Linked DNA regions of Homo sapiens: regions 1 and 3 are each linked to region 2. Evidence: promoter capture Hi-C in 16 types of primary human blood cells and fetal thymus (Javierre and others, 2016). All regions are on one chromosome and are shown on one strand. Each heading gives the region's core, a stretch centred on a gene start or on the middle of the fragment in contact. The rest is flanking DNA. Distances are from core to core; before and after follow the strand shown. Region 1 overlaps ABCD3 (ATP binding cassette subfamily D member 3). Region 2 holds the start of CNN3 (calponin 3). Region 3 overlaps TLCD4-RWDD3 (TLCD4-RWDD3 readthrough).

Region 1 (3,295 bases), core at 337-2,836, 500 kb after region 2:
AGTTTCTGAGACTTGCTTTACCTGTACATATAGGGGGTATAAGTGGTCCAGCTCCTAAAGAGCTCATAAATATACTAAAGACAACATTTACATTTGTAGCAAAAAGAATGTGTTATTTAAAACAATAGTAACCACAGCCCCCAAAAAATGAGAATCTCATTTGTTGTTGTAGAGTCAAACAAATATGAGTGTCTACTATATATTCCAGCCACAGTTCTAGCCACTGGGGCTATAACTGTGAATAAAATAGACAAAAATTCTTGCCTTTGTGGAACTTAAATGCTAGCAGTATGTATATACTGCAAACATATACAACAGACAAGATAAATATGTAAAATATATAGCATATTTTATAGTGATAAGTGCTAAGGAGAAAAGTAAAGTCTGGAAGGTAGACAGGATGCTATTTTGAGTGGCAGGGGCCAGGCACAGTGGCTCTTGCCTGTAATCCCAGCACTTTGGGAGTCTGAGGTGGGAGAATCGCTTGAGCCTAGGAGTTCGAGACCAGCCTGGGCAACATAACGTGACCTTGTCTCTACAAAAAATATTAGCCAGGTGTGGTGACGTGTGGCTGTAGTCCTAGCTACTTGGGAGGCTGAGGTAGGAGGACTGTTTGAGCCTGGGTGGCAAAGGTTGCAATGATCCAAGATGGTGCCATTACACTCCAGCATGGGTGAGAGAGTGAGACCCCGTCTCAAAATAAATAAATAAATAAAAATAAATCGAATGGCAATAGAAGGTCTCACTAAAAGGATGTCTGAAAAAAGACTGAAAGAGTGGGGAGAGTAAGCAATGTGAGTATCTGAGGAAAGAGCACTTCAGGCAGGGGAAACAGCAAGAGCAAAAGCCTTGAAATAGAATGCCTACCCAAGGATGTGAATGTGCCAGTAACTGGGACATATAATTAATTAAACAACCTGTACTCAGTTCCCCCTAGCAGACCACAGACAGCTACACAGTTCTCAGAACACTGCTCTGGGCCTGATCTGCCTCAGTTGGGTTCAGTACACAGCTACTTTGGCTGGCAAATTCTTCAATGCTTTTTTTTCCATCCAAGGTTGCTTAAGCATCTCTTTTTTATTTTGAGGATCCAAACGGGGCCATATAACATCTACTCATGGGTAACTGTAAGGGTCTCAAGCCGCTCTAGCCCCTCACATGATTCATGCTTGCACTTTGCAAAACACCCAGTGCGCCTGTGAAACTGAGAAAAGTGAAGCCAGCCCCTTCTAGAGCTTGATTTGAATGGGGCAGATTTAAGGAAGGAAAGCTGAATTTTGAAGTTTGCAGGAAAGTTGTAGAGGGGTTAGCAGTAACGTAGTGCAGGGAGTAAGAAGCTGGAGATATAAGGACACCCAATGGGTAAAGAAAGGCCCAGCAGCAGGCAACAGGGCTGAGACTCAGGACAAAAAAAAAAGTCAAGAAATTTCCAGCAGTGGGAATGTCCAAAAAACTTCTAAATAAAAGCATTTTAAGCTGTTCACTATGCTGGGATATAATCCCTACCACTCCTCCCAAATTTTCAATAAAGCCCTACTATAAATATCTGCTTTGTGATTGATTCTTTAGAGAAATCAAGGCAGACGCCAAAGAGACAGGCTCAAGAGACAAGATGTAAGTACCTTCTAAAATAGAGCAGAAAGTGCTCCAAAGGAAGCGAAGTAAGATGTCACTAAAAGAAACACAAGCTCCCTGAAATTCCTGAGAAATATTTAGGAGAGGAAACTGTGTTCCCACCATTTACAGAGGGGGGCTTTTAAAAGCAGGAAACTCACCCCATAAGCAGGTGGACTTTGGTAGACCTAGCTAGATTATAACCAGTCAAGCAATGAATAGATAAAACAATAAAGGTATTTAAATGCATGCTTCAGAAATTTTAAAAGAGGTGATCATCATTTAGATCATCTGGAGTAGTTAAATAACACTTCATGGATAGGGTGACCCTGACCTAACCCTTCAAGGATGACAAGAGTTGGAGAACAGGGATATCATAGAAAGATATTCTAGGTATGAGTAACAGCATGAATAAAGCTCCAAAGCCAAAAATGAGTGTGGCCTGTTCAAAGAACAGTGTAGAAACTGTCCTATTTGGAACAGAGAGTACCCATTGGCAGGCAATGGCATATAAGATTAGCCAGGTAAAGTAAGACCAGATTGAGGGAGGCTCTGAAATCCAAGATGAGAAATCCGAACTCTATTTGACAAGCATTGATAAGAAGCGAAAGAAACTGCTTTGTTCTGTTCTGTTTTTTAAAGATAATAAAATACTATGGCTATACAGACTGGTACCATTCCCTGCCTTCTAAAATTGGCCCACTGATTTCCCACTACCCAGGTCAGGTTATATATGCTCAGGTACACAACTATTACTTCTGCAAAAAGAATGTTTCTATTCATGTTTGTACTAGGCATCTCCAAATGCCTGTCAATTACGCTTAAAAGTTCTTCAACTATCCTATGTCATTTATCCTCTCTATAAACACTGTCTAACCCATGACAGAGCCGAACTAGGGAATTAAAGATGACTCAGTTCATGCCCTCAAGAAACTCAGGATCTGATGTAGGCAAAAGCCAAGAAAACAAACTAGTACAATACAGAATGGTAAGTGCTAGAGTAGGGGATACCTAGAGCAGTAGTCTCCAACCTTTTTGGCACCAGGGACCAGTTTTGCGGAACACGATTTTTCCACAAATTGGGGTTGAGTTGGGGGATGGTTTCAGGATGAAACTGTTTTGCCTCACATCATCAGGCATTAGATTCTCATAAGAAGTGTGCAACCTAGATCCCTCACATGTGCAGTTTACAACAGGTTCACGCTCCTATGAGAATCTAATGCCCCTGCTGATCTGACAGGAGGCGGAGCTCAAGTGGTAATGCTCGCTTGCACAGGCTGTGCAGCTGGGTCCTAACAGGCCACCAACCTGTACCAGTCCACAGCCCGGGGGTTGGGGACCCCTGGCCTACAGTATCATAAAAGCAGAGGACACTTACATCAGTTTGGAAATCAGAAAAAGACAGAAAACACCTAAGACAAAGTGTTGACTGAGTCTTGAAGAAAAAGAAGTATCAGCTGGGCAAGTTGGCTCATGCCTGTAATCCCAGCACTTATGGTTGGATGAGTGGGAAAAGTAGGGAAGGACCACACCATGAATACAGAAAGTTTGTATTTTAGAGTAGATTAATGATTTTAATGAAGGAATATTATGATCATATCTGAGCTTCTTAAAAAGAGCTCTGGTGGCAGTGGAAGATGGATTGAAAGGGCACCACAAAGTTTCTTTCTAACATAAATGC
Region 2 (3,573 bases), core at 336-2,835:
TTTCACTTTCCTCCCTATTTGCCTCCTCCCGCTTCCTTCAGGTTCCATCCCTCAAAGTCATTGGGAAAAGCCTTGCAAACTGGATAGCAGTTTTGTGCATTTCCGGTTCAAGCTGCCTTACTCACTTTTTTTTTTTAATTTAAAAAAACTTTGGATTTTTTGTAGAGACAGGATCTTGCTATGTTGCCCAGGATGTTCCTGAACTCCAGGCCTCAAGCAATCCTCCCACCTCGGTCTCCCAAAGTGCTAGGATTACAGGCATGAGCCACCACACCTGGTTCACCTTACTCACTTCTATTCCAGGACGGTTCAACTATGATGTTTTGGCTCCTCTTCTCAAGCAGCTTTCCACACCTGGTTCCATGATCTCTTCTGGCACAGTAGCTGGTATTTGGCAAACATAGGTTTCATCCTGGGATCTCAGGGATTGAAATCTGTCCTAGGTGTGCACCAGAAAGTGGTGGCAAGAGATGAAGCTTCGGAGGAGGCTGACCTCGGCCAGGATTCTTAAGTCTCAAAGTTTCAGCTTTCTCACCCCTCAACGGACATGAAATCTACCTATTTGTAACTCCAGGGAAGTAAATGAGATAATGTTTGGAAGATATCTAGTCTACCAGCTGCTCAGGCGGGGGGCGAAGGTTCTGTTCCCTGTCCCTTCTCTATCAAATGGCTTTAAAATCAGAAGAAAGTATTACGGGTAGGAAATGGGACTGCGAAAAAAATGGAGGCTGATTCTGGCCTAAAGGATACTTATCTCTATACAAAGGGCTTCTGATTCAAAGAGGCCCCGGGATTCAAAAACACAAGCAGAGCTACACCACGTGGGGTTTGGGACGAGCTGAATTCCGGATAAAGATGCCTGTAAAGAGGAGTTGATGCGAATCCAGAAAAGCACTTGAAATGCCCAGGCTTTGCATGGCACATTCCCCAGGATTTTTTCGCACCGCATTTAGAGGTTTAGACGGAGTGAGCTCGAATCAGGCCAAAAGCCTTAGGTTACTCCTGGGCGGCAGCGGGGCAGAGGTCAGATCAACAGGTGTGGAAGGCTGCGAGGTGAGGGAAGAAGCAGGTGTCGGTGGAGGCCCCAGTTCCTCCGGCCCAGAGGCTCCAACGCTGCTATTGGTGTTCCAGCAGCGGGCGGAGGGGTCCTGCCCGGCATCTGGGCGCGCTGGGCCCAGAGCCCGGGAGGAGGCAGACGGAGGCGGCGGGTCAGCGGCGGGCCAGCCCCGGTGGGCTTCCGCTCCCCTCCGCCGGCCCGGTCCGGCCCGCCGCGGAGGATGCCTGGAGGTTGACGTGAATGGCCTGTGGCTGGGAAGCCCCCAGGCGCCCTGCCTAGCCCGGGGGCGGGGCCGCCTAGCCGCCGGCCCCGGTGGCGTGAGGGCTGGGGCGGGGGCCGGGGACCTCGCGGGGAGGGAGCGGGAGGGAAAGCGGCCCCCGCGGCCCTTCAATTGGCCGCACCGCCCCTCGGCGCAGAGGCGGGAGGAGGCGGCCCTCCATTGGTCGGGCCCGGCGGCCAATCCTCGAAGGCCCAGGCGGAGGCGGGGGCGGCCTGTGGGGAACCGAGGTGCGGGCGGCGAGCGAGGCAGCCGGGTGCTTCGCAGCGGAGCTCGAGGCTCTGTAGCACCCAGTTGGACCCAGTCGCCCAGGCACCGCCCGCGCCCCGCGGCCGTCTCCTGCGCCTCCCAGAGGAGGGAGTTCGAGCATCCCCCGCGGCGGCCACTCCTCGGGGCCAGGAGCGGGGAAGCGAAGTGCGAGAGACCCCGGACCCCAGCGCTGTCTCTTCCCGCCGCCCGAACCACCATGACCCACTTCAACAAGGGCCCTTCCTATGGGCTCTCGGCCGAAGTCAAGAACAAGGTACGCCTGGCTCGGGCGGGCGCGGGGGCCCCCGGGGCACCCTTGGGCTGGCCTGGCGCTGGGCCGTGCTTCGTTTGCTCTTCGCGCTGTGGCTCACCGTTTTCCTGGAGAGGGGCCGTCGAGGCGGCGCGAGCGTCTCTGCCTGTCCCGGTCGCGTCCAGTCCCCGGGCTTGCGGGGCCGGCTCCCGGGCACCCGCCTGGCTTTGTTCCCGCGCCGTGGGACAGGACTAGTGGCTGGCGGTGGGTTCCCGGGCGCCTGGAGTCCCGCGGCGCCAGCCTTTCCGGCTGCGGGGGTCTCGGGGGCCGTTTGGTGACTGCAGAACGCGCCCTCCGGGAAGGGGGCGCTCCTGCGTGGCCACTCGCCCTTAGGCGGAGCCCGTCTGCGCGGCCAGGGACCCGGCGAGCCGCTGCCGCAGCCCCCGCCATCTGCCCGGGCCCCGGGTGCTGGCGGACTCCGCGCCTCCCCACGGGGAGAGAGACCGCCTAATGTCCCGCCGACCCCAGGGGCCCCGAGGAACGGAAGCCGGTCCGGGACCCATCACAGTCTCCGATCTCGGTGCCTGGGAGGCATTTGGAGGCAGATTGCTGCTGCTGCTTCTGCTGTTGCTTTTGCGGGAAATGGAGACAAAGCCTGAGCGCGCCACTGTGCGAGTGATATCTGCTTAGGCTTGAGACTTTTTATGAAACACTGAGAAGTTTGAAGTACATTAGACTTTCACGACATAAAGGATTATTTTTGTGGGTTGCTTTTGTTTGGGGCTTGTTTGCTGAGGCGGCTTATAGTTTGGAGCGATTGGGATTTGGTGACGCTCAGCTTTGCCACTGAGCCCAAGAATGCGTTAGGTTTATCTTTAGGACTTTTGGCCTGGGAAAGAGATGAGAGGCGTCCCCCTCCCCAAATCCTCTCCTTCCTTCCTCCCTCCCTGCATTCCAAGCCCATGACATCAGGGGTTTCTGGGGGGAGAGACCAGCCAATCGGCGCGGAACTGTGCACAGAACGCTCATTGTCTCCTTTCTGCTGTTCTGGCCAAAGCGCCACAAAGGAGGGCTGCCTGTGGTTTAATTCCCATTAACCTCCCGGGAGCCCAAGCATGTCAGGATTGCCACCGCACCGTCCGACCGCTGGTGGAAGGCACTGGCATTGTCAGAGCTGGAACATCCCGGGGCTGCGGGGGTAGGCGGTGTGAAGCGAATTATGTAAAGAGGTAATGAAGCGCACCGTTGTCAAACCCCAAGGGAGAGTTGTGGCTCTTGTCTCCCGCTGTTAGTCTGCACATCATACTGTCTTTGAAGCAAGGAGTTGATTTTAGTCTATGTATCTAAAGTTGAAATGTTTAGGTCCTTTACCTTTTCAAACGTGTTGCCCGTATTAGACAACAGTTTGCTAACAATTTTTTTAGAGAGCAGAAAGGTGAATGGTTTGTGTATGATTGAGTGCAAACCTCACCAACTGAAAAGTTTGTAACAAGTTACTGTTTCCTTCCTTCCAGGATTTACAAACCGAACTTTAGGAAACTTCAGAGGAATGGGCATGTCCAAAATGTTGGATGTGATGTGATACTTTGGCCTGGTTGTGCACATTCATTGTAATTCCCCCCAGTGATTCTTGGCTGGCAGCAGTTGAGTCTCTACTACCTTTTGCATTGTAAATGAGGTACTGATAACGTTGGCAGCCCTTCAAGTGACTTACTTTTCTTGGATGTTAATAATATCCAT
Region 3 (3,338 bases), core at 677-3,176, 310 kb before region 2:
ACAGCTCTTGGAATTGTGCTAGTAGCTTGTAATCACGGATCTCACAGGTGCAGAAATCCCTGGTACCTGTGGTAAATAATGGGCCCAAAGATGTGTACATTCTGTTTCCCAGAAGCTGTGAATACGCTCCCTCACATGGCAAGAGAGCCTCTGCAGACATGATTAAGTTAACGATTTCGAGAGGGGAGTATTATCCTGGATTACCCAGGTGAGCCCTGAATGTAATCACAAGGGTCCCTATAAGGAGGAGACAGAGATTTTACTACAAAAGAAGGCAATGTATCCGCACTGAAGCAAGATGCTATGCTGCAAACTTTGAAGAATCCTTTTCTGATCAAAACCCTGAGACCCACAGTGTTCTCCAACCTGTGCCATATAAACACCTACCGGGTCCTCTCTGGTGCAGGGAACCACAGGAAAGAAACATGTTGGTAGTCCAGGGGGAAAGTCTTGAAAAGCTACTGAGCCAGCCATGTCAGTCCTTACCAATTTTCATTTTTCTCTGTGTTATTTTCTGGTCCTAGTCAGCAAACAGAATAGCAATGGGTGAAACTCCTGACTTTCACCTTAGAAAACTGTGACCGTCATACTAGTTATATGTTCGGAAGAAAACTGCCTTAGTTCTTTTAAGAATTGGAAAGGATTAGCATTCTTCCTAATTGGTCTTGGTAAATCCCCCTGCCCACCCACACATACACTGTAGCTGCAAAATAAGATTATACAAAATGATACTGTCATCTCTACAAGAAACTGAAAAGCCCAATAACATACTCCATTCTTCTGGTATTTAATGTGGCAATAAAATTACATACTTTTAAAAACTCATTTTCTCCCAAAAACTCTAGAAGTATGTATTGTACTCTTCCATATCTCATCTGCTTGACATTGTACAAGCAATTAAACTGGCTCCTTTCTGCCTCAGAATTTTTCATATGACACATGCACTGTAAGTCTGATTTTTTGTTTTCTTTTTTTGCCATAATAAAAAAGAAAACAAAGTTGCCCCTATCTGCTTTAAGGTTATTAACAGCTTAGAAACAGTGATTAGCAGAAAAATAATTATGCTCTAAATCTAATACTAATCTCTGCCCCTCCTTAGCCCCCCAGAACCTTAGTTAATAAGCTTAATTCACAAACTGATCATTCTCAACAAACATCTATGCCCTAGAAAACTTAAGGCTTGCCCCAGAAAACTAAAATCTCCATAAGTCCAAGGGTGTTTTCATGTATTCTAAAGACCCTACCAAAAGGGTCTTGCCCTCTTGTTCAAGTTGATACAAATTGACTACTTGTTGTTTCTAACCAAATCATTCTGTCTTATAGTAAGTGTATCATTTTCATACCTAAAACACAAACTGAAACAGGTTTCAAACCTTATGCTTCCTTACAAACATCAGAAAGTAAGCTCCTAAACACATTCCAAACAGAAATTCAAACTAGAGAAACTTAAACTTTTAGAACTCCAAATTCACACTAATGCTATTTTTAAGGTTTCATTCTACTTAATAAAATACAACACACAACAGAAACTCTATAAATGCAGTCAAATAACAGAAGACATTTTTAAAAAAAGGTAAAATTTAAGAGAATGGGTTTTTCAGGATTCACTAAGAGCCCATTAAGAAATTGTTTACATACCATATACATCTGACCTTCCCTACACTTGTGTTTTTTTTCTTTGCAATTGTTATATATCCTCAAGATACAACTTTGAAGAAAACCACCAAGAAACCTTCAGCACCCTCTCATACTTGGTAAGACAAGACTGTCTCCTCTTGCTCCCAGGCAGCTCCCAGGCAAGCATACACCAGTGCTTGTTTTATGCTTCAGTTGGATTTTTACATAAGTTTCAATGTAGCTTCAGAAGAAAAAAAAAAAAACTAAAAATAAATGAAGCTAAAAGTAGCAATCTCATCGGTTTTATAGAAGTCAGCTCAATACTGACAATCAGCATAAAACCGAGCTGAGCAGATTTAGAGGGGTCAATGTGTGACAGTCATGATTCATTTTATAAGAAGGCCCAAACTAATTTGAACATTAGTGTTGCTAAAATACAAAAATTCACTCTGCAGCTTCTGTGAAAACCTATTACATGATATTGGGTTCTCCCATCTTACAACTTTTTTATCTGTAAGATTCTTTCCAGAAGCACAACTCCCACATATAACGAACATTGACTATGGCCACATAATCTGTGTCACTCAATTTCCTCATCAGGAAAATGGTGATACAATACCAATCTCACGCCTCTCATAGATCCACACATACATGCACAAACACTCCCCTTTGGGATTGTTCTGAACATAAGTTGGCTCACACTCATATCTTTTCTCTGGGTGCTCATTATCGCTCTTTCTGCACAAGTATTTCCTTGCTTTCCAAGAACTATTTTCCTGATGCAACAGCCCCATCTCTCTATTAAGGAGCATGATGCAGTGCAAAGGCCCATACACCTGGAGCCTGGTGGTTATTTAACCAGTCTGAGTATCAGTTATCTTCTCTGTGAAGTAAGACCAATAGTACCCCTCATCAAGTAAGATGCATTTCAAGTATCACGTACATGGCAGGTCACCCCATCAAATCTGGCACCTGGACTGACTACAATGCATACAGAAAAACAGAATATCCCTAATGTGGTCTATCCACAGCCCTCCCTTGTAGATGGGAGTGTAGGGACTTACTTAATTTGCACCCCTAAGAGATGGTTATGCCTCTTACTAGAAGCTTACTATAACCATTGTAAAGAGATCAAAAGGCAGATAAAATCCCCTGAAATTCTCAGCATAAAATTAGTCCAGCTAAATGGAATCCAATTATTTAGCTTCTTCAATCTTACGGCCTTAATAGTTGATCCTTGGGTTAGCAGTCTGAGTCTTGCTGGGTTATCTTGTTACCAGGAATGCAATTCCTCTGCAACATTCTCCTGATTCCAGTGGCAAAAGGGAGAACCTTATTTGGGGGAGGCCAGAAAAGAACTAGTGTTTAGAGTGTTCTGGTATCAAGTGTGTATCCTCCAACCCAAACTGACAGTGATGGTGAGTGGTAGCCAGCAGTCTGCTGCATGTTTACTGTGGTCTGTTAAAGAAGTCCTTACTTTGTAAAAAGATGTTACGAAAATCATGGGAAAAAAAAAAAAGGCCTTTACCTTACCCCCTTAATTCCCACTTGTGAACATCAAACATCCCCATTTCAATCACTGAATTATTCTACCTCTCAGCAACAAAATGTCCTAAGTTGTTACACTGAATTCTTTTATAATTCAATTACTTATTGATGCCAGAACATGGAATTAAACTAATTAGGAGGCATGGCTTGAAAGTCATGCTCAATTTAACAGC

Evidence for each region. The method cuts DNA at HindIII sites, captures the fragments that hold promoters and counts their contacts. A CHiCAGO score of 5 or more calls a contact.
Region 1: a fragment that was not itself captured here is called in contact with the fragment with the promoter of CNN3 in region 2 in 1 of 17 cell types (total B cells); the score reaches 6.2 in total B cells.
Region 3: a fragment that was not itself captured here is called in contact with the fragment with the promoter of CNN3 in region 2 in 6 of 17 cell types (naive B cells, activated CD4 T cells, naive CD8 T cells and 3 more); the score reaches 7.6 in naive B cells.

What each region holds. Positions count from the first base shown.
Region 1 is chr1:94,421,842-94,425,136 of GRCh38, reverse strand. All of the region lies in intron 1 of ABCD3 (ATP binding cassette subfamily D member 3), which reads right to left. Among named protein-coding and RNA genes, the nearest start is that of ABCD3, 5.1 kb to the right of the region's middle. The HindIII fragment of the contact is 5,695 bases long and covers 1-3,295 here.
Region 2 is chr1:94,925,122-94,928,694 of GRCh38, reverse strand. It overlaps CNN3 (calponin 3), which reads left to right and starts at 1,585. Exons shown (of 7, transcript NM_001839.5): 1 at 1,585-1,857. The coding sequence starts at 1,801. It overlaps CNN3-DT (CNN3 divergent transcript), which reads right to left and starts at 2,335. Exons shown (of 3, transcript NR_168377.1): 1 at 1,955-2,335. RefSeq lists silencers at 1,068-1,947, 2,048-2,477. The HindIII fragment of the contact is 4,662 bases long and covers 479-3,573 here.
Region 3 is chr1:95,236,959-95,240,296 of GRCh38, reverse strand. The region is part of intron 7 of TLCD4-RWDD3 (TLCD4-RWDD3 readthrough); the gene reads right to left. All of the region lies in intron 1 of RWDD3 (RWD domain containing 3), which reads right to left. Among named protein-coding and RNA genes, the nearest start is that of RWDD3, 4.4 kb to the right of the region's middle. The HindIII fragment of the contact is 1,601 bases long and covers 1,126-2,726 here.